2 separate regions of the Homo sapiens genome follow, and region 1 is linked to region 2. The links are contacts of gene promoters, found by promoter capture Hi-C in human tissues and cell types (Jung and others, 2019). All regions are on one chromosome and are shown on one strand. Each heading gives the region's core, a stretch centred on a gene start or on the middle of the fragment in contact. The rest is flanking DNA. Distances are from core to core; before and after follow the strand shown. Region 1 overlaps MSI2 (musashi RNA binding protein 2). Region 2 holds the start of MSI2 (musashi RNA binding protein 2).

The links. Contacts are between HindIII fragments. The study calls those that stand out against the background at their distance.
Region 1: a fragment that was not itself captured here is called in contact with the fragment with the promoter of MSI2 in region 2 in 1 of the 25 tissues and cell types used here (spleen).

Annotation. Positions count from the first base shown.
Region 1 is chr17:57,528,862-57,535,240 of GRCh38, forward strand. MSI2 (musashi RNA binding protein 2) reads left to right here. Exons shown (of 14, transcript NM_138962.4): 7 at 815-863. Among named protein-coding and RNA genes, the nearest start is that of MSI2-AS1, 76 kb to the right of the region's middle. RefSeq lists enhancers at 4,905-4,954, 4,965-5,154. The HindIII fragment of the contact is 6,344 bases long and covers 1-5,071 here.
Region 2 is chr17:57,255,273-57,261,523 of GRCh38, forward strand. It overlaps MSI2 (musashi RNA binding protein 2), which reads left to right and starts at 1,251. Exons shown (of 14, transcript NM_138962.4): 1 at 1,251-1,532; 2 at 1,826-1,866; 3 at 2,194-2,275; 4 at 2,998-3,082. The coding sequence starts at 1,471. LOC101927510 (a long non-coding RNA gene) reads right to left here and starts at 1,724. Exons shown (of 3, transcript XR_007065860.1): 1 at 1,670-1,724. RefSeq lists a silencer at 806-1,435 and enhancers at 3,414-3,503, 4,490-5,013. The HindIII fragment of the contact is 35,888 bases long and covers 1-6,251 here.

The DNA of each region.
Region 1 (6,379 bases), core at 650-3,149, 270 kb after region 2:
TTTTGGGAGACACAGTTGAGCCCATAACAATCAGGATGTTCAAGCTTCACTGTTTATCACTAAAAACAATTCACATGTCTATTAGAAGGGCAATAATTAAGTAAGCTATGGCTTCTTACACTGGGAAATATGCATCGGTCAAGATAGTAGTATACATGATATACTAACCTGGAAATTGTTTGCCATATTGTAATGTTACAGGTTAACAAAAGGACAAATTCCATATACTATATGATTTAAACTATATTGAAATAGTCATAGTTTTTTCTTTCTTTAGAAAAAAAATACTCCAGGCCTGGAGCAGTGGCTCACACCTATAATCTCAGCGCTTTGAAAGGCTGCTGCAGGAGGATCACTTGAGCCCAGGAGTTCAAGACCAGTCTGAGCAACATAGTGGGACCCTGTCTCTAAAAAAATAAAATAAAATAACTGGGCATGATGGTACATGCCTGTAGTCCCAGCTACTCAGGAAGCTGAGGCAGGAGGATTGCTTGAGCTCAGGAGGTCGAGACTGCAGTGAGCCGTGATGGTGCCACTGCACTCTAGCCTGGGTGACAGAGTGAGACCCTGTCTCAAAAAATAAAAAGCAGACACTAAAGGGAACTATATAAAATGTTAACTGTATACAACGGTGTGGAGTGGAAAGACCACTGTTTTTTTTTCTTTCTACTTTTTTGCATTTTCAAATATTTTTTGATAAGCAACTATTACTTCTGTAATGGAAACTACCCCCTCACCCCCCGACATGCATATAATGTTTTGTGTACTTTCTTAAAATTCCTAAGGCAGCCTGTATTCTATATTTGTTTTGCAGGTGGAAGATGCAATGCTGATGTTTGATAAAACTACCAACAGGCACAGAGGTAAGATTACCCCAGTGTAAGAGGGTTGCGTTCACCCTCTCCTGGCCTCTCTGTCTGTCATCCCCAGTCCCACTGACAAAAGATACAGTGAAGAGTCCAGAGTCAAGCAGGTAGAGGTGACCATCCATTGAAGATCTTTATTCACGGAGAGTCCCAGTAGCACAAAGAGTTCCAGTACTGGATAGCTGAAAAACCATTTCCTTCTGGCCTAGGAACTCCTGTTTAGTTATGCAGCCATCCCTGACACACATATTCAGATGTACCTCTCTAATCCTGCCTTTCTGGGTCCCTTGCTAACCTCGGCACTAAGCGATCCAAGTGGAAATTATTCACAGCAGTGACTCAATTGAGTTATCAATTTGTATTGAAGGAGGTTCTTTAGGAGCAGACTGTCAATCTAAAGAGCCAAAAAATCAAAATAAAACATTGTAGGTTCGTTGGGTGTGTAGTGATTACAGCCTTGGGAATGCTCCGTGGGGCCTCTGGAATGTGTAGAGGGCATCTGTACTTAATTGTGTTTTTCCCTGTGCTGCTTCTGTCCCATCCACTTTACAAAAAATGGGTCTTAACCTGGAGTCTATGAACCTCTGCAATGACATGCAAAATGTCATATGTTTATACTTTTCTTGGGTGAAGATCCCTAGGTTTGGACAAATTCTCAAAAGGGTCTCTGGCCCTGCCCTTAGTCTCTTCCTTCCCCAAAAAGAACACATTAAATTTATTGCTTTAAACAGAAAAATTGGAGGCATCTAGAAAAGTCCTCCCTGGAGGTAGCAGAGTCAAAGGAGGTGATGACTTAGTGTTCTGTTCTCCGGAAGCTCAGGTTTCTGGGGTTCCTATTAACAGGGTGTTAATGAGCAGAGCTTCCTAAGGGGGTGGCAGGAAATGGTGTGCTGGTGCCCTCAAGGGAGGGAGCCTGTGAGTGAGCAGCATTTCCTTGCCACTTGGATCGCATTTAGATGTTTCCTGTGTTGTTTACATTCCTGCTGTCACCTGTGATTAGAAACAGTTACCCAGCACTGACTGTATGTCTTTCCTGTTTGGAGAAGGCAGAGTGAGTGAAAGGCAAGAAGGAGTGGAGTGGGAATCATTGCTGGCGGGGCTGGGAGAAGGAGGGGGATATCCTGAGTGCGTCTGGTAATCTGGCTTCAAATGCATCCCTCTACAGCATCCTCAGAATGGGAGAATGGAGCATTGGGTGCACAACAGTGGTGTCAAGTGGTATTTATGGAGGGAAGAGATGGCAGGGGGTGGAGGGTGGGGAGCAGTGGAGAAGCAGGGAGAGAAAGGAGGGGCATGCAGGTGTGGAATGATCGATTTTGTCCACTGCATTGCTGGGGAGTGAGAGCCCAGTGAGTGAGATGAAGGTGGTGCCCGTGGTGGGCAATTGAGGATTATCCTCCATCATCATCCACATTCTGTCAATCTAGCTTTATGGTTTCCAAGCCGGACTTCCAGATGCATCTCCTAATGTGACCTTCACAGCAGCCCCTGGAGGGTTGTTGTGACATTGGGAAAAATCACTTAACTTCTTTATGCCTCAGTTTATTCATCTGTAGGATGGGGGTAATCATAGAACCTCCTCACAGGATTGCTCGGAGAGTGTAATGCCAAGCATCTAGTCAATTGTGCGTAAATGTTAGCTCTTATTATTAGCGTTATCATCACCTCCGTCCGGTTGGAAAAATAACCAAGGCTCAGAGGAGGCAACTGAGAGACCCATGGCTGAGCAGGGTCTCAGGACTATTGATTTCAAATTCTGCTGTTTCTCTGCTGTGTCCAGATGGGAATGCATTTGTTAAAAAGAGCACTGCCAGCTATTTATTTTCAGGGTGGGTGATGCCCATTTGAGTTTGGCACCTGGTGTTCAGTGTTAGAATTCATAGTCCTGGGAGATTCCAGAGTTGCCCCCAGGTGATACTGTTGTCCTTTTATTTTGAAAATCAGTGAAAGTATTTTTTGATCTGCTGTGTGTCAAGCCCTGTGCTGGGGGCTCACACTGGTATCGTCTCATTAACTCTCAGAGCCGGGCAGGGAGAGGGCTGGTCATGGCAGAGGTGGGGTTGAAACACCGGACTTTGGACTTCTGGGTGAAGGCCCAGAGGATGTGCCGGGAAAAGTCCTCTCTTATTTTTAACCAGATCCCTGTTGCTGTGGGTGAAGCCTCTTCCCTTTTTCCAAAAGGGAGAAAGGAAAGTGCTGGGCCGCAGAGATGGGGTGGCGGTTCGTCTGGGACGGGCGTGGGAAGAGTTTTTTGCCCGTTGTGAGGTGGAGGATGGTCTGTTGGAAGGCCCGCTGCTCAGAATGGCTTCGGGACATCATTGCTGGCTCTCCAGGAGTCCTGGTGGGCACTGGCAGGAAGGAGCGTGGGCAGGGCCTTGGTGCATGCACACTCCTGCCCCCAGCCAAGCCAGAACCTCTGCTAGCACCCTCGGACCTGCCAGAGCTGAAGATGCCTGCAGTGGGGGCAGGACCAACTCTAAAATGTGTGGAGCCCAGAACTAGAGGAAAGGCAGGGCCTCCTATTCAAAGATGATTGAGAAGCTGGCCTGAGGGGCTGCAGCCTGTGGAGGGCAGAGACATGCCAGGAAGCCTCAGCAGGGAAGAGCCGCCATCCCACTGCCCTCCCTCTCATCCAGGGCCCTCCCACTCTGCAATGTCGTTTCTGTGTGGGTGGGAGCAGCGGCCCATACACACGTTCCAACCCCTCAAGATACCGGAGGAGGCATTTCTCTTTGAACTGGGTGCTAAAGTTGGTGTAATACTTCACTGCATTTAGAACATTGAAGAGAGTGAAAAAAAATTTTTGTTTTTCAAAAAGAAGAACATATCACAGCAGAGGCACAGATCATATATATGGAGCGAGCCGGCCCCACATCTGTGGCCTGATGGAGTGCACATTTGGAGTCAGGTGATAAGCACAAGGAAGTAAAATCCTCATGCAGCCACCTTGCCCCAAACTTACCTTCACCTCCTCGGTTCCTGCTGTCCATGATCTTATCAAGAGGAAAGTGCTGCAGTGGCAGAAGTTGAGGACATCTCCCTGGCTGGCGCCGCCTCCAGCTCTCTTCTTAAAGAGGCCCAGACCATCGACCCAGAGGTGTTGTCACAGCACATGCTCAGCACTTGTCCTCAGACTCCTAGCCCAGCCCTGTGGGGCAGCCTGGGGCCTCAACTCATCCTTACCCCAGGAATTTTGACAGCTACCTGTGTGTCCTTGGAGCTGTGTGACATGAGCTGTGTGACATTTGCTGCTCGGGGATAACCACAGGGAACTGGGCTTAACATCTGATGAGCGTCAGGTGGGCCAGGCTCCCAGGGCCCATTCAGTCTCCACTTGCTGTTAGGAGCCACAGGTCAGGGCAGAATTTCCACTCCTTGACCCCACTGGTCACCTCCTGTCCCTGCTCCCTGTTGGTCTCTGTTGGGGCAGGGATGCCCTCAGTTCCATCTGCATGGCGGCAGCTTGTATCTCCCATCCACAGGAGCACCAGCCTGGGGCTCACTAGTGCCATGGGAGAGAACCCAGGACCTAGGAGAGAATGAGCCTCCCGCAATGTATGTCTTCCACCCTGCAAGCAGGAAGAGGGTCCCACGTTCAGTCTTTGACTCACAGTGGGTGGAGCCCTGGAGATGTGGGGGCTCTCACCTTTCTCCTTGCAGATGGGCCTTCCTCCAGCTTCTGCTGCTCCCATGACATTTTTCCTGGGGGCACATTCCCTGACCTCTGAGCATCTCAGGTTCTTCCTCTAAAAAATAAGAGACCTGGGATTGATGAGCCCCAGGACCTGAAGTATGTTTCTGGCCTTTAGCTTTTTAACTGTGAGAATGTTCAAGATGAATTCCTTTGCTGTTTTTGTGACTAGGGGAGGGAATGGGCAGTTGTTGCAGGTTGGGTTCCCTGGGAAGCAACTCTAGGAAGGGATTAGCAAGTGGGAGGTTTATCCAGAAGTGCTCTTGATCAGGAGAGGGCAGAGGGAGAAGCTGACTTGCGATGCCCTTCTGTAATGGGGTGGTTCTTCAGGGGTCCCCAGCTGGGGTGGGAGTGCCATCCTTGATGCCTGCACGCTGGCCTGTCATTGGGTGCAGCCCACCCTGTGAGGCTGATGTGACCTGGGCTTCCCCTGGGGAAATCCTGGAGGGGACTTCCAGCTGGGGACTATCTTCCAGCAGCACTCCCAGCCACTGGGAAGGAGGTCCTTCATTCCTGAAGGGGATCTAAGCATCCTGACACAGCACCCACTGTGATGGTGTGTGGAGTTCTGTTGCTGTCTAAGCAGGCCATGTTAGCAATCTTGATAGAAACAGCCAACACTTTCTGAGCACTTACAACACCAAGTGCTTAGCACAGTGCTGGCACCTACCATTGAACCTTGATGACAGACAGCCATAGGTGAACCGAGCTGCCCAGAGTCTCACACTGGTGAAAGCAGAGCTGGGACGTAAACCCAGCCTGTCTGACCTGGAGCTCAGGCTCTTACACTCTGCAAGCATTGTGCAAGGTAACTGGTTAAAGCGGAGGAGCTGGTCATTTTAAGGGTTTGGTATTTCCTCATTTTCTGTCCTTCTCCACAACAGCCTTCTTGCTGGATGACCGTGCTCCTCCATTTCCACTTGGAGAAATTAAGGCACATAAGTTTGGAATATTGCATAGCAGATTCCTGCAGCCAGACAAGGAGCAGAGCTGTTGTTAAAACCTGGATGCCAGTCGGCACGATGGCTCACACCTGTAATCCCAGCACTTTGGGAGGCCGAGGCGGGTGGATCACCAGAGGTCAGGAGTTCAAGACCAGCCTGGCCAACATGGTGATACCCTGTCTCTACTAAAAATACAAAAATTAGCCGGGTGTGGTGGTGGGTGCCTCCTGAAATCCCAGCCACCCGGGAGGCTGAGGCAGGAGAATCGCTTGAACCCAGGAGGCGGAGGTTGCAGTGAGCCGAGATGGCGCCATTGCACTCCAGCCTGGGCAACAAGAGTGAAACTCCGTCTCACAAAAATATAAAACAAAAACCTGGATGCCTCCCTTGGCCCTGTCCCTCACTTCATTTCCTGGCCTTCCATACGATGATTTGTGCCCAGGGGGAGCGGAGAATGGTGGCTTTCCAATCTTCTCAGAGTCACTTCATTTGCTGTCTAAAAGTTGTTAGAGATGGTCTGGAAAACACTGGGCTGATCGTCAATGGATTTAATCATTAGGAGGGGGAAGTTTGTTGCTTTATCCTTGTAAAAGTCAGATAAGATCTGGGACTTGGCATTAAGTATTGATCCCAAGTGGGGCTGGAGGGGAGGGACAGGGAGGGAAGAGGCAACAAGGTGCTGTCCTTCCAGTTTGCTCTGTTGTTGGCAGGAGGCCGGGGAGTAGACAGCCAGCGGGAGGGAGGAAGGGTGCACTGGCCAGCTCTCTCTCCAGTGTCCCCACAACCTCAGCCCTGATGGAGAAAGTGGAATGCGGGCATGTTGCTTGCTGAAATAATCTCACACTCACCTCCTTATGGGGGAAGGGAACCCTCCCCAT
Region 2 (6,251 bases), core at 1-2,500:
GAAACTTTCATGCGATGCCTTTGGAAGGCTACAGACATTGTCTTTTTGGAGTTTTCAGTGCATGAAGGTATGAAACCGCATTTATTAAGCACCTACTGTATGCCAGAACCCGTGCTGCACAATACTACTGCTGCTAAGGTGGGAGTGATTCTGAAGCCTTCTGCCACCCTAGCTACCTCTGCAGGTCGTGAGGGGTCTTGGGCTATTTCAGTATCATGCACTTTACTATCCTGGCATACAAAGGCTGGGTGAGAAATAAAATATATAACGAACGGATTACACAGGGGTTTCCTGAAATAACCACCCTTCCCATCCATCCCAGAGACACCCCAAAAGTACTTCTCGTTATATACAAACATTTGCTTTGAACCTCAATCATGTGACCTTGACTCCTATAACCTATCTTATTACATTTTTAAAACACTGTATGATTAACGCGGAAACCCTTTCTTCGGCACTTTCTCGCCACTGGAATCGCGTCAGTTTCTCAAAGTTCCAAAATAACCTTTCCCGGGCACGGATTGGTACCTCTACTGGGGAAGGGCGGGGAACCGCGCAAGACGTGCCGGTGTGGAGCCAGAGCCAGAGAGAACTTCCAGCGCAAAAGGAAAATAAAACTTGTGGCTGGTGTTTGTGCAGGAGGGTCTCCGCCATCCTGAAGCCCCCCGATCCTGGGGCGTCTCGGGGGCCGCCAAAGGAGCGCCAGGGTGTGGGTTTGCTCCCGACGTCCTTGACCTAAATTTCTGAGCGGTGGCTGGAAACAGGGCACAGCGGAGGGCGGGCGGCTGGTGCCATTCCCGGATCTCGGCGGCAGGGGCCGGCAAACTTGAATGGAGAGGGCGAACTAGAGAGGGTGGGGGGCGTCTTCTCCCAGGTCCGGGTGAGGAGCCGCAGCAAGCTCCCCGCGCCTCCCCTCCCCCGATCCACCCGCCCCCCGCAGCCCATGTGATCCAGGGAAGTCGGGGTGCGCTCCCCCTCGCCCTGCGCCCTGCCGGCCCGGAGGCGGGGTCCCCTCCGCCCGCGGGGTTCGCGCGCCACCCTTGTGGGTCCGGCCGTGGGGGGCCGAGTGTGCGCGCGCGGGCAGGCGGGGGCCGCACGGGGGTGCGTGACGTCACCGGCATTGGTTACACGACGTTCTAGAACTCCGCCCCACGTGCGCCGGGGAGGAGGGGGAGGAGGAGGAGGAGATGGGGGTGGGGAGGAGGAGGGGGAGAGGTGGGGATGGGCCGGGGGGGCGGGGACGGGGGGGTGTGCGAGGCAGCGGGGCTGAGCTAAGCCGAGCCCACGTGTGACGGCTCTCGCCGCTGCCCCGGCTCCGCCGCTCGCAGAGAGATTCGGAGGAGCCCGGGCGGGGGGGAGGAGGAGGGGGAGGAGGGAGCGGAGATCTCGGGGCTCGGAGCCGGCCGCCGCTCCGCTCCGATCGCTGTGGGGCTTGGTTTTTTGGGGGTGGGGGGGCGGGGGGGCTCAGATATGGAGGCAAATGGGAGCCAAGGCACCTCGGGCAGCGCCAACGACTCCCAGCACGACCCCGGGTAAGTTTCCAGCCGCTGCCCACCGCGCCGCCTTGGGCTCGCTCTCCTTGCAGCGGCGGGGACGGCGGTGCGCGGAGCCGGGCATCTCCCGCGCCCCCCCGCCTCTCCCGCGCGCCCCCCCCGTGGAAGTTACACACCTTTGGATTGCATTTCGCCGTCACCTTCTCCCCCACCCCACCTCCCGGCTCTCGCTCGCTCGCTCCCCCCCGCTTTCCTTTTAGCTTTTGTAAGTTACACGTCAAAATGGCCGATCTGACATCGGTGCTCACTTCTGTTATGTTTTCTCCCTCTAGTAAAATGTTTATCGGTGGACTGAGCTGGCAGACCTCACCAGGTAAGGGAGGGAGGGGGGGACGCCTGGGTCCCCCCCTTCTTGGCTTCTTTATTGCTCTTTGTTATCCCGGTGTAGGAGCCCCCCCCCCCCCGCCATTGGCTCCCCACTTCTCCTGTGCAAGGTTATTTTTTTTAAATAGCAAATCCTTTCTGAGCCCTCTATGCGACCTCTGTTGCCGAATTTCCCCCGCGTGTGCAAAAAATGCAAAAACAAAACAGAATAACAACAGAAAACTACTTTTGGATTTTGTCCTTGATCAAAATTTGCATTGCTTTTTTTTTCCACACCTTCTCTCCCCCCCCCATCTCTCTCTTTCTCTCTCTACAGATAGCCTTAGAGACTATTTTAGCAAATTTGGAGAAATTAGAGAATGTATGGTCATGAGAGATCCCACTACGAAACGCTCCAGGTAAACCATTCCCTTCTGGATTTTGTCTTTATTTTAGAACAAAGTTTAAGTTTTATTTTTGGAGGTGTCTTCGGAAGTAGCTAAGCGGATTAGAATGGGGCTCAGGCGCGTGGCTGATCTCGAACGGCGCTCTATACCACCCCCACCGCCCCCTAGTAACCCCAGAGGTTATTGTTAATTGGAGCTGAACTCTGGATACAGAGATACCCATCTCTCTGCTTTTAAGTCATTTTCCCGTCGCTTCTTTTTCTCTGTTTAAAATGACATTCAGCTTCATTTACTTTCGCATAGTTTTTTTTTTTCTTTTGATCTTAATGTGTGTTTCCCCCACACTCCCAGCTCCCCAAACTCTTAAGATCCCTCTTAGAAAGATGGTGGTAAATCTCTTCTAAGTGCCGGGCTTTCTTCGGAATAAAACAAAGCGTTAAGAAAGGGAAGGGGAGGAGGAGAGGAAACTGAGGTGGCCAAAGAGTGGAGGCACCAGCATTTTCCAAGTTACCTCCACCCTCCCTGCCCCCGTTCCACTTCCCCCGTTAACCTTGATGTTTTTTCTTGCGAGGTGGAGGGCTGTAGGCAGGAGGGGAATTGGAGGAGGGGAGTGGGAGGTGGGGGTGCGTGGGGGGCAACTTTTGCTCCTCATTCAGCCTTAGGTCTCACTCCTGGTTGCTTTCAATGGTGTCACATTTTCTTGTTTGTTTTTCTCCCTCTTTGTCTCCTTTCAGAGGCTTCGGTTTCGTCACGTTCGCAGACCCAGCAAGTGTAGATAAAGTATTAGGTCAGCCCCACCATGAGTTAGATTCCAAGACGGTAGGTTGCTTTTTGTTGTTGTTGTTCGCCCCTTTTCAGGAACGATCTGGGCATTGACAGCCCCATTTAAAGGGACAGTGCCTTCTTTTGCTTCTGTGCTAGAACTGGGTAGTTTTAAACTGAGCTAGCGAGTTGGCTCAAAAGTTTGCTGCTGTGGCTGGCTTTGGGGTTTTCTTTTTAGAGCCTGTCCCATTGCAGCTTCAGAGGCTGCCAAGGTTAGGCTTGGGGAGGAGAGGGTTCGGCTCCTGGAGAGTCTGCCTTCCCGGCCTGGGGACTGTGCAGAGAAACTCCACCAGAGAGCAAATGCAACTTTTCTTTGTCAGCCAAGCACAGCACGCGTTACCAACTGTGGCTGTGGGGATCAGCTTTGAGAAGGCACAGCCTGCTTTGTGGCCAAGGGGGACAGCAGTGGGAAGGAGGGGAGAGGGCGCTAATTACAGGTCCAGGCAACAGGTTTCTCTTGGGGCACTTGGGATTTGGAATGTGCTTTGGGAAGGGAAGGGGACGCTGGCGGAGCTGAGCTGGGCATCCACTGGGGTGACTCCAGATGGCATGAAATCTAAGGCTGATAAGGCCTGGGGGTTTCAAAGTGATTTTTTTTTCCTTCCTTTTCTTTCTCAGATCCTTTCATTTGAGTATGGGTACTTTTATACATCACAAGTTTTAAAAATCCAGAGTAGAAGGGGGAAGAGTCTCCAGGCAGAGGTCAGAAGGGGAAGGGAAGAAAGAGTGTCTGTATATAACAATACATTTAATGGGAGGGGGAGTGTGCAGTGTTTTATTTAGCCCCTGTGTGGGCTTCCTGCCTCTCCTCCCTTCCCTTTATGTCTACCAGAGTTTCCCCACGGTTTTTATTAATATATATCTGCCCCAAACAGAGGCCTTAAGATGACATTGGGCTGTAGTGCTGGGTTGCATGGAACTTCACTCCTCTGTGATGGGGTAGTGGGACAAGGCCAGAAATGGGGCTCTACTTCCATCCGCCTCTTATGAAAGTGAGCAAGACATTCCCTACCTCTGGGTCTCAATTTCCTCTTCTGTAAAATAAGTGGACCAAGGTGATCTTTCAAGCCCCTTTTGGCTTTAACATTGAATGGAAGAGAAGGAAAGCAAATAAAGAAACCTGGCAACCTTCGGTGCACTTGAATTGATTTTGCAAATTCACCCTCTTTCTCTGATCAAAGAGATCAGGAATGCGTGCCTTCTCCTAAGAAAGAAACCCACCTACACTCTTAGTTGCTTTATTAATTGTCCTGGACTTGTCATAGCTTGCATGCAGCCCAGCCTTTTGTACTTTTAGATAATTTAATTTCAGAAATGATTTGTAGGATGATAACAGATGTCTGAAAAATTTTTCTCTCCTTGATTTCGTGGCTAGCCATTTCAAAAAGCTAGTGAAATTAAAGAGGAAAATCTTTTCAAGGCAAATTTGGGAATTTATCATCCACCCCCTCTTGCTACCTGGGTGGGAGAAACAGTATTTGGTTTCTGTGGTGGCTGGTGGGTCATATTCCTCTGTATCAGGTGCAAAGCCTGCAGTTTCCCTCTCTGATTGTTTATAGACATGTTTTGGTCACTATTATTTAGTGTAACCTAGCTTTTGACTTTGTTTCAACGTTCAGTGCAGGAGGCAGAAGCGGTTGGTTTATTGACATGGAAACGAGGATCTTGTTTACTGTTACCTTAAAAGCTTTGTTTAGGTAACGGCCATTCACATCCAAAATAGTACCCTAGTCTTTTCCTAGAGGACTTGTAGATACAGTAAGTAGAGCTGTACCTAACTAACTAATGTTTTAATTTTTGGTAGTTTTCTTTTTTGTTTGTTTTTTAAAAAATAGTTGACAGGGATGTGCAAAAGGTTGGGATTTGCCATGCTTAACTTGACCCTTCCTCTCCTTCAGAGATCTCAGCGTGTAAACTTTGCACACTGAGGAACTTCGATCATGATATAATGCTCTGATACGGCCACACACCATCCAGGAGTTCTGAATTGGCTTTTTCGTTTTGTGATTTAAATTTTCTTTAGTACTTCACTTTCTTCATTGCACCTTACTTCTTCCAGCTCCTGGCACCTCCCTCAACATACCCCACACCTGTTACCCCATAAACAAGGTGATTTCTGATTGCAATTGTGTGCCGGCCAACTAAAAAAAACACCCTCTGGGGAGTATTTATAAAAAGACACCTCTGTCTTACGTACGTCAACAGAATGGAAAATCCACACCTGTTGTATTTCTCTTGTAGACAAGCGCTAGTCAGTGCTGGACACACCTGTAGATGCAGTAATGTTAATCTTTATGAAAGGGTAGTTTTCTAGATCAGAGATTTTTGTCTATTTTAGTTTTTGAAAAGTAATCTCTCATTTCTCAGGTGATGTTTAAAGGTAGGGAATGCAATGCAGACTTTTATTAGGTCTTTAAGCCCCCGTAATAACAGCAGGAAATCCTCATATGTCTTTCTGGCTGGGACCCTAGGTGATGTAAGTCAGGGAACAAATGAACTATCCTCCGTGCTTCCCACTCCCCACCCCCACCTCCCTACTTTCCTCCACAGCATTACTCTTTTCTCCCCTGCTCCTTCTCATGGCAGAAGTGAAAACAAAGCTCAGATTTACTTTTTAAAAGGAAAACATTTTAATATGAAAGCCAAAGCCTGGAAATAAATAACTGGTAGCATGTTTATACTATCTGTGTTACATTTTTACCCAAAGATTTGTGACATTTAGAAATTCAATGAAAACCGACAACGGGAATATTTTCACATTTCTTTCCTCCTCTTTTTATCTGTGCAGTCACTTTTTTCCTCCCTCACATCAGCCTGTTAGATTCACATGCTTCCAGGAGAACTGTTCTGAGCTGTACAGCTAGACCCTGATTGAGCATCATGCGTTTTGCAAGTGTGTGATTTGGACTGGAGGATGTTTTTCCACTCGGATTGAGGTTGGGGTAGGGGAATTCCCTACTTGTTGCACTAGATTCTGACTACTTCTTGTATTCAGTAACTTTTTTTTTTTTTTGGTGCCCTCCCCATGATGGGATTTCTTTTCTAATTTGGGTTTAGGTTGCTTATAGATTTTTACTCCCTGTTGTTTTTAAAATCCAGGTGGATTTAGCTCACATGCTTCATTTTCTTTACTTCAAAAAATTATTTTTTATCTTTTGAGGTATAG